Regions from separate parts of the Homo sapiens genome. Here all the other regions are linked to region 2. Evidence: promoter capture Hi-C in 16 types of primary human blood cells and fetal thymus (Javierre and others, 2016). All regions are on one chromosome and are shown on one strand. The core of a region is centred on a gene start or on the middle of the fragment in contact, and the rest is flanking DNA. Distances in the headings are between cores, read along the strand shown.

What was found. The method cuts DNA at HindIII sites, captures the fragments that hold promoters and counts their contacts. A CHiCAGO score of 5 or more calls a contact.
Region 1: a fragment that was not itself captured here is called in contact with the fragment with the promoter of HAS1 in region 2 in 1 of 17 cell types (monocytes); the score reaches 7.9 in monocytes.
Region 3: a contact is called between a fragment that was not itself captured here and the fragment with the promoter of HAS1 in region 2, in 2 of 17 cell types (neutrophils and monocytes). The highest score is 6.2, in neutrophils.

What each region holds. Positions count from the first base shown.
Region 1 is chr19:51,827,435-51,830,860 of GRCh38, forward strand. It overlaps a transcript of ZNF577 not described here. Among named protein-coding and RNA genes, the nearest start is that of FPR3, 34 kb to the left of the region's middle. The HindIII fragment of the contact is 6,940 bases long and covers 1-3,426 here.
Region 2 is chr19:51,722,662-51,726,504 of GRCh38, forward strand. It overlaps HAS1 (hyaluronan synthase 1), which reads right to left and starts at 1,330. Exons shown (of 5, transcript NM_001297436.2): 1 at 1,264-1,330. The coding sequence starts at 1,272. The HindIII fragment of the contact is 33,518 bases long and covers 1-3,843 here.
Region 3 is chr19:51,613,198-51,616,293 of GRCh38, forward strand. All of the region lies in intron 8 of SIGLEC5 (sialic acid binding Ig like lectin 5), which reads right to left. LOC124904753 (a long non-coding RNA gene) reads left to right here. Exons shown (of 3, transcript XR_007067313.1): 2 at 632-852; 3 at 2,227-2,519. Among named protein-coding and RNA genes, the nearest start is that of SIGLEC5, 16 kb to the right of the region's middle. RefSeq lists a silencer at 2,470-2,619. The HindIII fragment of the contact is 7,305 bases long and covers 1-3,096 here.

The DNA of each region.
Region 1 (3,426 bases), core at 174-2,673, 100 kb after region 2:
GCAGGTATTTTGGTCTATATTGTTTGCTGATGGATCCCAATCCCCTGCAAATAAGATAGTGTCTGATATGTGATAGGCACTCAATAAATGTTTATGGCATTGATAAACAATAATATCACTTAATGTCCAGTCAAAATTATCTCCAGCCCTCATAATATGAATCAGGTCAGGTCTAGTAAATTCCCATCCTCATGTCCACAGTATTTGTAAATTCCCAGCTGGCTTACATTTTCATGAACATTTCTGATTTTGAGTTTCTGCTTAAGTAAACTACTCTGGTTAACCATTGCCTAAAGACTTCATATTTAAATAAATAACTCATAACTCAGCCCTTTACCTTGCTTTCTGCACATAAACACTCAGAAATTGTCAATTCTGTATTGTGAACATACTTTCCTGATGCACTGGCAAAAGACACCACTCAACATGAATATCAGGCAATCCTGTTATCAGTGTTCTCACTCACCCCACTGCTTTACTCATTTTCTTCTCCTTTTCCCTTCTGTCTCTCCTAAAGTTATTGCATTTCCAAGGCAGAGCACTTTGCGCATTTCATTTGCACGTTTGACTCCTATAAATGCTTTAGAGTTCCCAGGAGGTGTATATTCTTAAATGCCCAGCCAAGGTGTAGCCATAGAAAATAAGGAACAAGGCTGGGCATGATGGCTGACTCCAGTAATCCCAGCACTTTGGGAGGCCGAGGTGAGTGGATCATTTGAGGTCAAGAGTTCTAGACCAGCCTGGCCAACATGTTGAAACGCTGTCTGTACTAAAAATACAAAAATTATCTGGGCATGGTGGTGTGCACCTATAATCCCAGCTACTTGGAAGACTGAGGAAGGAGAATTGTTTGAACCTGGGAGGTGAAGGTTGCAATGAGCTGAGAATGTGCCACTGCACTCTAGCCTGGGAGACAGAGAAAGATTCCATCTCAAAAAAAAAAAAAGGAGAAGAAAAAGAAAAAGAAAATAAAAAGGCACAAGGACAAAACCTAGATAGGAGAGCCAGGGCTTCCAGATGGGCTAATTAAGAGACTTCCTCCACTGCCAGGACAGGGGATTCTTACTATTCCTTCCCACTGGCCTTGGTTAATTGCAGTAGAACAGTGCCTGCTACATCCTCTCCATTTTTCTTTTCCTCTTTAGGAGTTTTCATTGTGGAGTCTCAATTCCCATTGCATTATGATATATTGTGGGTTCAGGAAACTGAGATTTTTTTTTTAAAGTTATGGGACAGTTACCACAAAGAAATACTTCCCAATGTATGTCCATGTGGATGGCTCACTAACTTCCTGTATCAGGCCTGGTCGGTCTGGGACAGCACTACTGCTTGCTGGTTTTAGATTTTTTGTTGCTTTGTGCAACTTAGTACTGCTGTTGTCAGGTGTTGCCTTGGGGACTCTCCAGAAACTCTGGTGAATATAGACAGCTCTCTGAGCCTTCAGGCTCCCCTGCAGCTCCTGGAGGGCAGGTTTCATTGTAATGAGGATGTTTCGCTATGAACAGTAGTCACTCTTTCTCTAATCAGGCCCCTGGTGACAGGCCACTACTTGAGGGCACGTTGTCCCTTGAGCTATATATGCTGCTCTTGTTACATGGGGTCTTGGTAGTAGTCTGGCCTGTACTGGGTATAAGTTGCAAAGTCCTGGTCTCCAGCCAGAGTGAGCTGGCCAGTATGGTGAAACTCTATGTCCATCTCTGCCAGGGTCCAACCTGGCCGAATGACAGATGAAAAATGCACTCTGAGACTGATATCCAGTGAAAAAGCAGGCTAGGGGACTGGGCAGCTCACAGACACCGAGGAGGGAGCTGTAAAGAGTCAGTAGCCACAGCCCCGACAAGCTGGCACTGTGGGCATTTATTCAGTACAGATTTAATGACAAAGGCCTGGAGTCAACACGTCTTGTGGGTAATTAACATTGTCACCCCCCACCCCCCAAGACAGCAGTCCTGTGCACAGATGATTAAATACCAGGTTCCGAGGCCTAAGTAAACTAACTTATCTAGATCAATTCCTTTACACTTCCTTGTTATCCATTCTGAGAAAATTCAGCTGCCTTCAGCCAAATCCTCTTCTGAAGCTATGCAAATCCCAGGCCTTCCAAGAAGGTTTGCATCCTTTTCCTATAATTTATCTTACAACTTTTCCCACCATCCTGACCGATCTCCTACACATCTCACTGATGAGAGAGCCACAGGATACCAGGCTCCTGGGTAGCAGCAATTCCCTCATAGTGAAGTCAGAAAAGATGATAAAATGCTGGGCTTCAGTGTGTTGATAAAGGAGAGCCAGGATGAAAGGATCAAGTCACCTAAGCCTAACCTGTAATATGGCAACTGCACAAGTCCCCTTGGCAATTTTCAAGAGCAAGTGCTGCTGAGGCCAGTGCCTCCTTGGTTGCTGCATTCCTTCCTGCTATCACTCCTTGTCCCCACTAGCCACTCAGAGGTCAAGTGGGGCACCTTCAAAAGGGAAACAACTGCCCACAAGGCCAGTGCAAATGGAGCTCACCCCCAGATGTTTTTAGTAACAATTTGTAAAGTCAAAACAACAGGGTGCCAAACCCAAGGTCATCTAGATTTTCTCCTGTTATCTTCTAGGAGTTTTATAATTTTGTCTTTTACATTTAGGTCTGTGATCCATTTTGAGTCCTATTTATCTGGTGGAAACCTGACTGACATAGCATATGCTTCTAGTGTTTAAAAAAAAAAAAAAAAACAGAGGAAAGATGAAGCATTAACTAATATAAATTAGTAGAAATTGAGTGGAAGAAATGAAAATAGTCTCTCTGTCTACTTTATCATGCCATTTTCTTTTTGTGTTTTTGCCATCAGCATATACATCTGTTCTCTAATCTACTAACTGAAAACATAAAAACCTTTTGTACCACACGCGTCCTCCTGAACTTTACAACAAATTTCTCTGCTCTCCTTGACAGCAAACTCAAGGGTCACTTCCAGTTTCTTTCTCTACTTCCTCATTTCACATTTTCTCCAGAACTCATTCTAAATGGGTTCATGTCCTGATTACTGCAGTGGGACTACTCTTATCAAGGACAACAGTGACATCCATTGCCATGTTACTGCACTGCAGGTTCAGACATTTGGTGCTTGCCTATGAATCCAATGGAGTAAATCTAAGTCATATATGCTTATCTGATAATGATGGGAATCTTAGGCCCCTAAGCATATATGACTCAGTTGTCCACACCCTTTTATTTTAAAATATATAATTCTCTTGGTGACATCACACTTGTTTGGTTTTCTTCCTACCTCAGTGATTTATCTTTCTCAATCTCCTTGACTGGCTCTTTTCTGACTTTTAAATGTTGGTGTACCCGAGGGCTCAATTCTAGACCCCCCTCATCTATTTGCATCAATGCAGTCATCCTAGGTAATGTGTTCCTATAACTTGAAATCCCATCTG
Region 2 (3,843 bases), core at 80-2,579:
AAGTTTTATTTGCATACAACCACATTCATTTGTTTATACATCATCTGTGGCTGATTCTACATTTACCACATCGAAGTTGAGTACTTTCAAAAGAGACCAGATGGCCCCCAAAAGCCTCAAATATTTAATATTGGGCCCTTTATTTAAAAAAATGTGCTGGCCCCTGACACACTGGGTTAAATAAAAATATATTATTAAAATTAATTTCACCTGTTTGTTTTTACTTTTTCAAATGTGGCCACAAGAAAATTTTAAATTAGATATTGTGGTTTTCGTTACATTTCTAGAGGACAAAACTGAGGTACAGCTTTTAAACTCTCAACATTAAACATTATTCTTTCTTCTCGAATCCCCCTTCTCTCTTCCTTTGCTTCAAACCTGGCCTTGCCTGAGTTCCTAGGGATGGCTCAATTCATGCTGGGGATCCAGAGAGTTGATTCCAGAAACACAGATGAACACACGTGTAGACACACTCCCCCACACGTGAACTCACACATGATGAGTGACACACAGAATGAAATTACTCGTGTTCTACAGGATGACCCGAGACACCCACTCAGGCCAAACACAGCGATCCCGTGACCCCCACCGACGGCCACACAGGTGAACCTGCAGACACACACCCCTCAGCAGGAAAAAGCAACACCAGCAAAGGATGTCCACGTGGCCACAAACACACAGAGCCCCAACTGAGAGTCTGGGGCAATGGGATGCACAGGGAAGATTTCAAGAGAAATAGTAGGTGACTGTCAAGCTGATACTGAACCAGATGAAATTGCTATTCTTCCAAGTTTAGAGTGGCTCAGTATCGGCGATTTCATTTGGTTCAACTTAATAGCTATTGAACGCATGAAACAGAAATCCATTCCCATGTGCCACAGGCAAATCCAACTCTCTTTCTCACTCAGTCTCTTTCATTCGCTCACTGTCGCACTCCCTCTTTCTCTCTGCCTCCCAGGGAACATAGACATACACAAGTTTGTAGCAAGATACGCAGATACAGAAATACGGACATGGCACGTCTCACCTACATGTACTTGGGATGGCCGCTCACACAGGGCAATGTATACACAGACCTGCACACTCAGCCTCACATGCTCACTGTCCCCTACACACATATGGTCACTGTCAGGCACATGGATACACACATGAAATCATGCACACACAGTTCCCCAACACACGTGGTCACACATATGGCAGTAGTTTTCCCCACATGGCTGTATACACACACACACACACACACACACACACACACACACACACCTGTCTCATCGCAGTGGGTCTGGCCGGGCTCTCTCTTCTCTCCGGCTTGCTCTCCCAGCCTCTCTGTGGCCAGAGAGCTGGAGGGGGGTCATTTGAAGACCAGCGCAGGCGGGGGCGGGAGCGAGCGCTGACGTCAGTCAGGCTAAGCTGGGCCAGGGGCTCTGAGGTCACGGCCCAGCCGGGCAGCTCCACCCGCTTCCCGCTATTACTCCCACCCCCCTCAGCCAGACGGGCCTCCCTTCCCAGGCCCCCATGTCTACCCGCGCCCCTCCTCTAGTCCTCTCTGCCATCACTCCCCCTCCTCTCCCTCCCTCCTCTATGTCTTCTTCTCTCTTCCTCCCCCCTCTCGTCCCTTGTCTCCCCTGATTTTTCTCTTCCACCTCACTTGCATTTTGGGGGTTCCCCTCATCCCCCCATCCCCTATCCCTGTATTTCCCTCCATCCCTTTCTTTCTCCCTAACCCACTATTTCTCCTCATCTCTTTGTTGGTACCCTCATCTCTCTCCCCATTACCACATTTCTCCAAGTTTCTGTCTTTCTCTCCATCCCTTTCTTCCTCTCCACTTCTCTTGCCTCCTCTCACCCTCATTTCTTTCTCTTCTTGCTTTAAAGCTCTCCCCACCTCCCCCTTCTCACCTTCCCCAGTCACCCCCGCCCTGCTTCTCCCCACAGCCGCCTCTCCTGTCCCCAGAATCCATCTCTGGGTTGGGCCCCCCAGGGACATGTCTCAGCAACTGGCAGATGGAACGAAACTCACACACGTGCGTGCTGTGGGTGTGCCTGTGTGTACGCTGGCCCGAGGCACGGCTGCCTGGAACCGGAGCTGTGAGTGAACATCTGTCCATTCAGCGCCTAACTGACGTGGGTCTGCGTGTGTGCACCAGGGTCTGGGGTGGAGAGCTGGGGCGCTGGGATTTGTATCCCCAGGGACTCAGGGATGAACACAGAGAGTTGTCGGTCAGCTGACCCTGGGGAGCCAGCCGGGGTCTGTCAGTGCTGTCACCCATCAGGGAAACTGAGTCAGAGGAAGGGTGAAAAGAGATGCGGGACCTGGGGTGCCCGAACCCCAGCCCCTCAGGACCAGATCTGTGATAAATGTCTGTTTACATGCCCTTCTTTCCATGAATTTTTTAAAAAAACTATCTGTATCTAATTCTGTTCTTCTCTCTGCTCCTCTTACTGTGAACTATTGATGTCTCACTTTCGGCCTTGGTAGCTGCCTCGGTAGCTGCCTCGTTCTTTTCTCCCTGCCTGTGACTCCAACGACCTTTGGTGTCTGGCACGGGCCAGCTCCAGGACAGGCTGAAAGACATGGAGCAGCAGAGAGAAATTCCCCCGTGCTTCTCTCTCCTCGTCTGTCCCTCCCCAAATCTCTGTCATTTTGTATCTGTCACCCCATCTCTGTTTCTCGGTCCCTCTATTTGGGTCTCTGCCTCTGTGTATTCCTGTCTGTTTCTCCTCCTCATCCCCCCTCACAGCCATTCTCTCTCTGCTTTTACCTGGGAGTGTCTGTCCCTTTGCATTTCTGAAGTCTCCCTGACTTTCTTCTTGTGTGGCTCTCTTTCTTTCTGAGTGCCTCTCCCTGACTTTCTCACTGTGTGTCCATGTGTGTGTGTCTCTTTCTCTCTGTCTCTTTTTCCCTCTATCTCCCTCCCTCTCTAGCTCTGTCTCTATCCTCCTTCCGTCTCTCTGCATCCCCATCTCTCTCTTTTTTTTTTTTTTTTTTTGAGACGGAGTCTCACTCTCTCACCTAGGCTGGAGTGCAGTGGCGTGAGCTCGGCTCACTGCAACCTCCGCCTCCCGGGTTCAAGCGATTCTCCTGCCTTAGCCTCCCGAGTAGCTGGAACTACAAGCGCCCACCACCACACCTGGCTAATTTTTTGTATTTTTAGTAGAGATGGGGTTTCACTATGTAGGCCAGGCTGGTCTCCAACTCCTGACCTCAAGTGATCCATCTGCCTTGGCCTTCCAAAGTGTTGGGATTACAGGCGTGAGCCACCGCACCTATCTCTTTGTAAGGCTCTATCTCTGTATGTGTTTCTCTGTCTCTGTCTCTCTCATTCAGTTTCTCTCCATTTCTCTGTTTCTACATCTTCGTCTCTCCCTGCAGTTCCATCTCTTCCAGCCTGTCCCGGAGCTCTCCCCTGCCAGACACCAAGTCCTCACACCAAGTCCTCACACCCTGGGGTTTTCCCCGAGGAGGCTGCGCCAGGCCAAGCCTCTGCCTGGGCCTGTCAGGGAGAAGGTGCATTCCCAAGGAGCTCGAACGCCCTTCCCACCCACCAGGGCGGGCCGGGCTGTGTCTGACGCTGTTGCCGGGAGCCGGGCTGCCTGGTGTCTGGCTGTGTCAGGATGATGGGTCCTCAGATGATCTGAGGCCAGCCCAGAGCAGAAGGGGAGGGTGAGTCCTCCGCCCAGTGGGAGGGGGCAGCGCAGGCTCCTCCCCAGAAGTGGGGCATTTGGCTGCCCAGCCCCCACCCCGCCCTGCTCGGGTGGAGCAGCTGTATAAAACCAGATGTTTCTAAAACCAGAGTGCGGTTGAGGAAGGATAACCAGGGCTTTAATCCTCAACAGTTCCCT
Region 3 (3,096 bases), core at 6-2,505, 110 kb before region 2:
GGGTCACAGGCTGGGCACTCAGGCAGCAGGTGGTGTGCCAGGATAAAGGAGTATTCTGTGAAAGTCACACTGTGAACATGATGGCCAGATCTCTGGGGTTCCCATTCAAGGCCGGGCTAGATTTTATGACCACTCCCCAAAGAGAGACCTCAACACCAAATAAGAGAAAAATACAACAAATGGTTCCCACAGGGAAGTTGGGCTGATGTGACATTTATCAATTCATCCTTTTATAATCCACTCCTCCTAAGGACAGGCCATAGGCTGCCTAGGTCAGGGTCTATGTCTGATTTCTCACACTGTACGTGCCCAGGAACCGGCACAGGGCAGACAGGGCTGGGTTCAAATCCCGGCCCCACCTGTCCATATACATTTCCTGTGAACTCAACTATTCGCTCATTCTTTCAAAATTTTGTAATACTATGATTGATCAGACCATATTGAGGACTTACTAATCACATTGAATCATCACCAAAAAAAAACCCACAACAGTATAAAAGATATTCTAATTATCCCCACCTTACACACAGGGAAACTGAGGTGGAGAGAGGTTAAGTAGCTTGCCCAGGGTTATTCATCTAATACATGGCGAGGCCAGGATTCGAACTCAGCCCTGTCTCCCCTGTTTCAGGTTCTGGGCACGTACAGTGTGAGAAATCAGACATAGACCCTGACCTAGGCAGGAGGAGCGGATTATTGATGAAGCAAATGTATACCTTCGGCATAGGTTACAAGGTGTCTTATGTGCAAACCAGAAAAGAGATGGCAATTCTGATCCTGGACCCAGTTTCCATGAAAGAGAAACAAAATGGAGCAGATCCTGTCCCCAGCAAAGATGGTAACCAGATACAAGTAAGCAATTTCTTTCCTCTCCCACCTTCACCCATATCCCTACCCATCACGCTATGGAAAATATGTTGAAAGCAACGTGAGTCTTCAAACAGTAGCTCAGAAGTTTTCTTTTTGAGACAGAGTTTCACTCTGTCATCCAGGCTGGAGGGCAGTGGTGTGATTTCGTCTCACTGCAACCTCCCGTCCCTGGCTCAAGCAATCCTCCCACCTCAGCTTCCTGAGTAGCTGAGACCACAGGCACAAGCCACCATGCCCAGCTAATTTTTGTAAAGACAGGGTTTCGCCACGTTACCCAGGTTGGTCTCAAACTCCTGGGCTAAGCGACTGGCCCAGCTTAGCCTTCCAGAGTGGTGGGATTACAGGTGTGAGCCACCACACCTGGCCATACAGTTTTTTTAAAAGGACTCCGCAGTTAGGGAAAAATGGCTTCATTGTGTCAGAAAAAAATAGACTTTCTGGAGAGAGCTGCTTATATTAGGCACAAGAAAGATGAAATAAAATGAAAAAGTGGCTATGCACACCAGCATTATGCAGGCAAAGGAAGAAATAAAGACATATGTCTATCAATAGGTGTGCGGTATATGAAATAAAAAGGGTGAAATTGACAACTGAAAGAAAAGGCACAGCTCAGATTAGTAAATAGGACAATGCAGTATGTTCACCCTTTCACTCAATAGCTCTTTGCTGAGTGCTTTCTTTGGGCTAGATGCCGTTCGTATAAATGAGGACATAAAGCAGACTGAAACCACCCAAATACCTCCCCGTCATGCAGTTCCTTGTTAGACAGAAGGAAAAGTAATACTGGGTAACAGTTATAAGTGAGCTCCCTGTGAGCTTGCCACTTTACTAAGCACTCCTTGTAACAATCCGAGACAGATACTAGCATATTAATAACCCAATTTCTATAGGAGAAAACAAAAAAACAGAGAGGTTCATTAGCTTATCCAAGGTCACACAGCTTGCAAGTGGGTGAATCTAGAACCTGAATGCAGGACGTCAAACTCCAGGGACCATGCTGTGCCTCGCTTTACCATTCTGCCTATGGCATGAAAGTGTGCAGAATGGTTAAAGGTAAAATAAAGGAGAAAACAAAGCTCTCTCTACCATAGTTCTTGTCAAAAGAGTGAATTCATACACCGGCTCTGTTCTCCAAGACCTACCAATGATGGAACTAAAGATGGAGCTCCTGGGTGAACAAAACTTTACAAATCAATTTATGATCAATCAATCACACTGATATCCCTAGGGGAAAGTTAAGGCTCATTTGAAGAAAAGGGGTGGGAGAACTGGGCGGGGGGACAGCTGGCTTGTTGAGAGGATGGGTTAGCCCAAACATACTTGAATTCTGCTCCTTTCTCTCCTCTACCCTTCCAGTGGGACAAACATTGTCTGCCCCTCACTGCAGAATTCAGAGTATGGACAGGATTATGATGTGCCAGTGTCCAACAGGCATGTGTTGGGTAAGCACCAGAGGCCCACTGGGGTGAGGAGAAGGAGAACGGAGGTGGAAGCTCACTGGTCTTTGACATTCTCCTTGCCATTTTCTCCACTCCAAACTCCCAGGGCTGGTGGATCACAATGCAACGAGAGTCCTTGACCAATGTTGCTTCTCCACGAGGGTCTGAAGATGGAGGGATGACTTAAGCTGCCTTACTGGGGTGATAGGAAGTGGGACTGGTTGGGTGTGGTTTGGGTTCTTGAGGGGATCCACCCTGGGGCTTGTCCCAGTCATTTCTCTTTTTTTGAGACGATGCTTCACTGTTGTTGCCCAGGCTGGAGTGCAATGGCATGATCTCGGCTCACTGCAACCTCCACCTCCCAGGTTCAAGAGATTCCCCTGCCTCAGCCTCCCGAGTAGCTGGGATTACAGGCATGTGCCACCACACCTGGCTAATTTTGTATTTTTAGTAGAGACGGAGTTTCTCCATGTTGGTTGGGCTGGCCTCAAACTCCCGACCTCAGGTGATCTGCCCACCTCGGCCTCCCAAAGTGCTGGGATTATAGGCGTGAGCCACCGTGCCCGGCGTCCCTGTCATTTCTTTGGCTCAGTAAGCCTGACACAGGCCAGCATCTGCCCTTCCCTCATTCAAGAAACACTGCCAGAGTAGCCAATAACCCCAGGGGAATGTGAGCTCACAGCTCAGAAGGCTGGGCACCTTTGAAGAAAAGCAAACCAACAGAACCTGATAGACCACTAGAAGCACAAGTACTAGGACGCTTTGGTCAAGAAGCTAAACTGAGCAT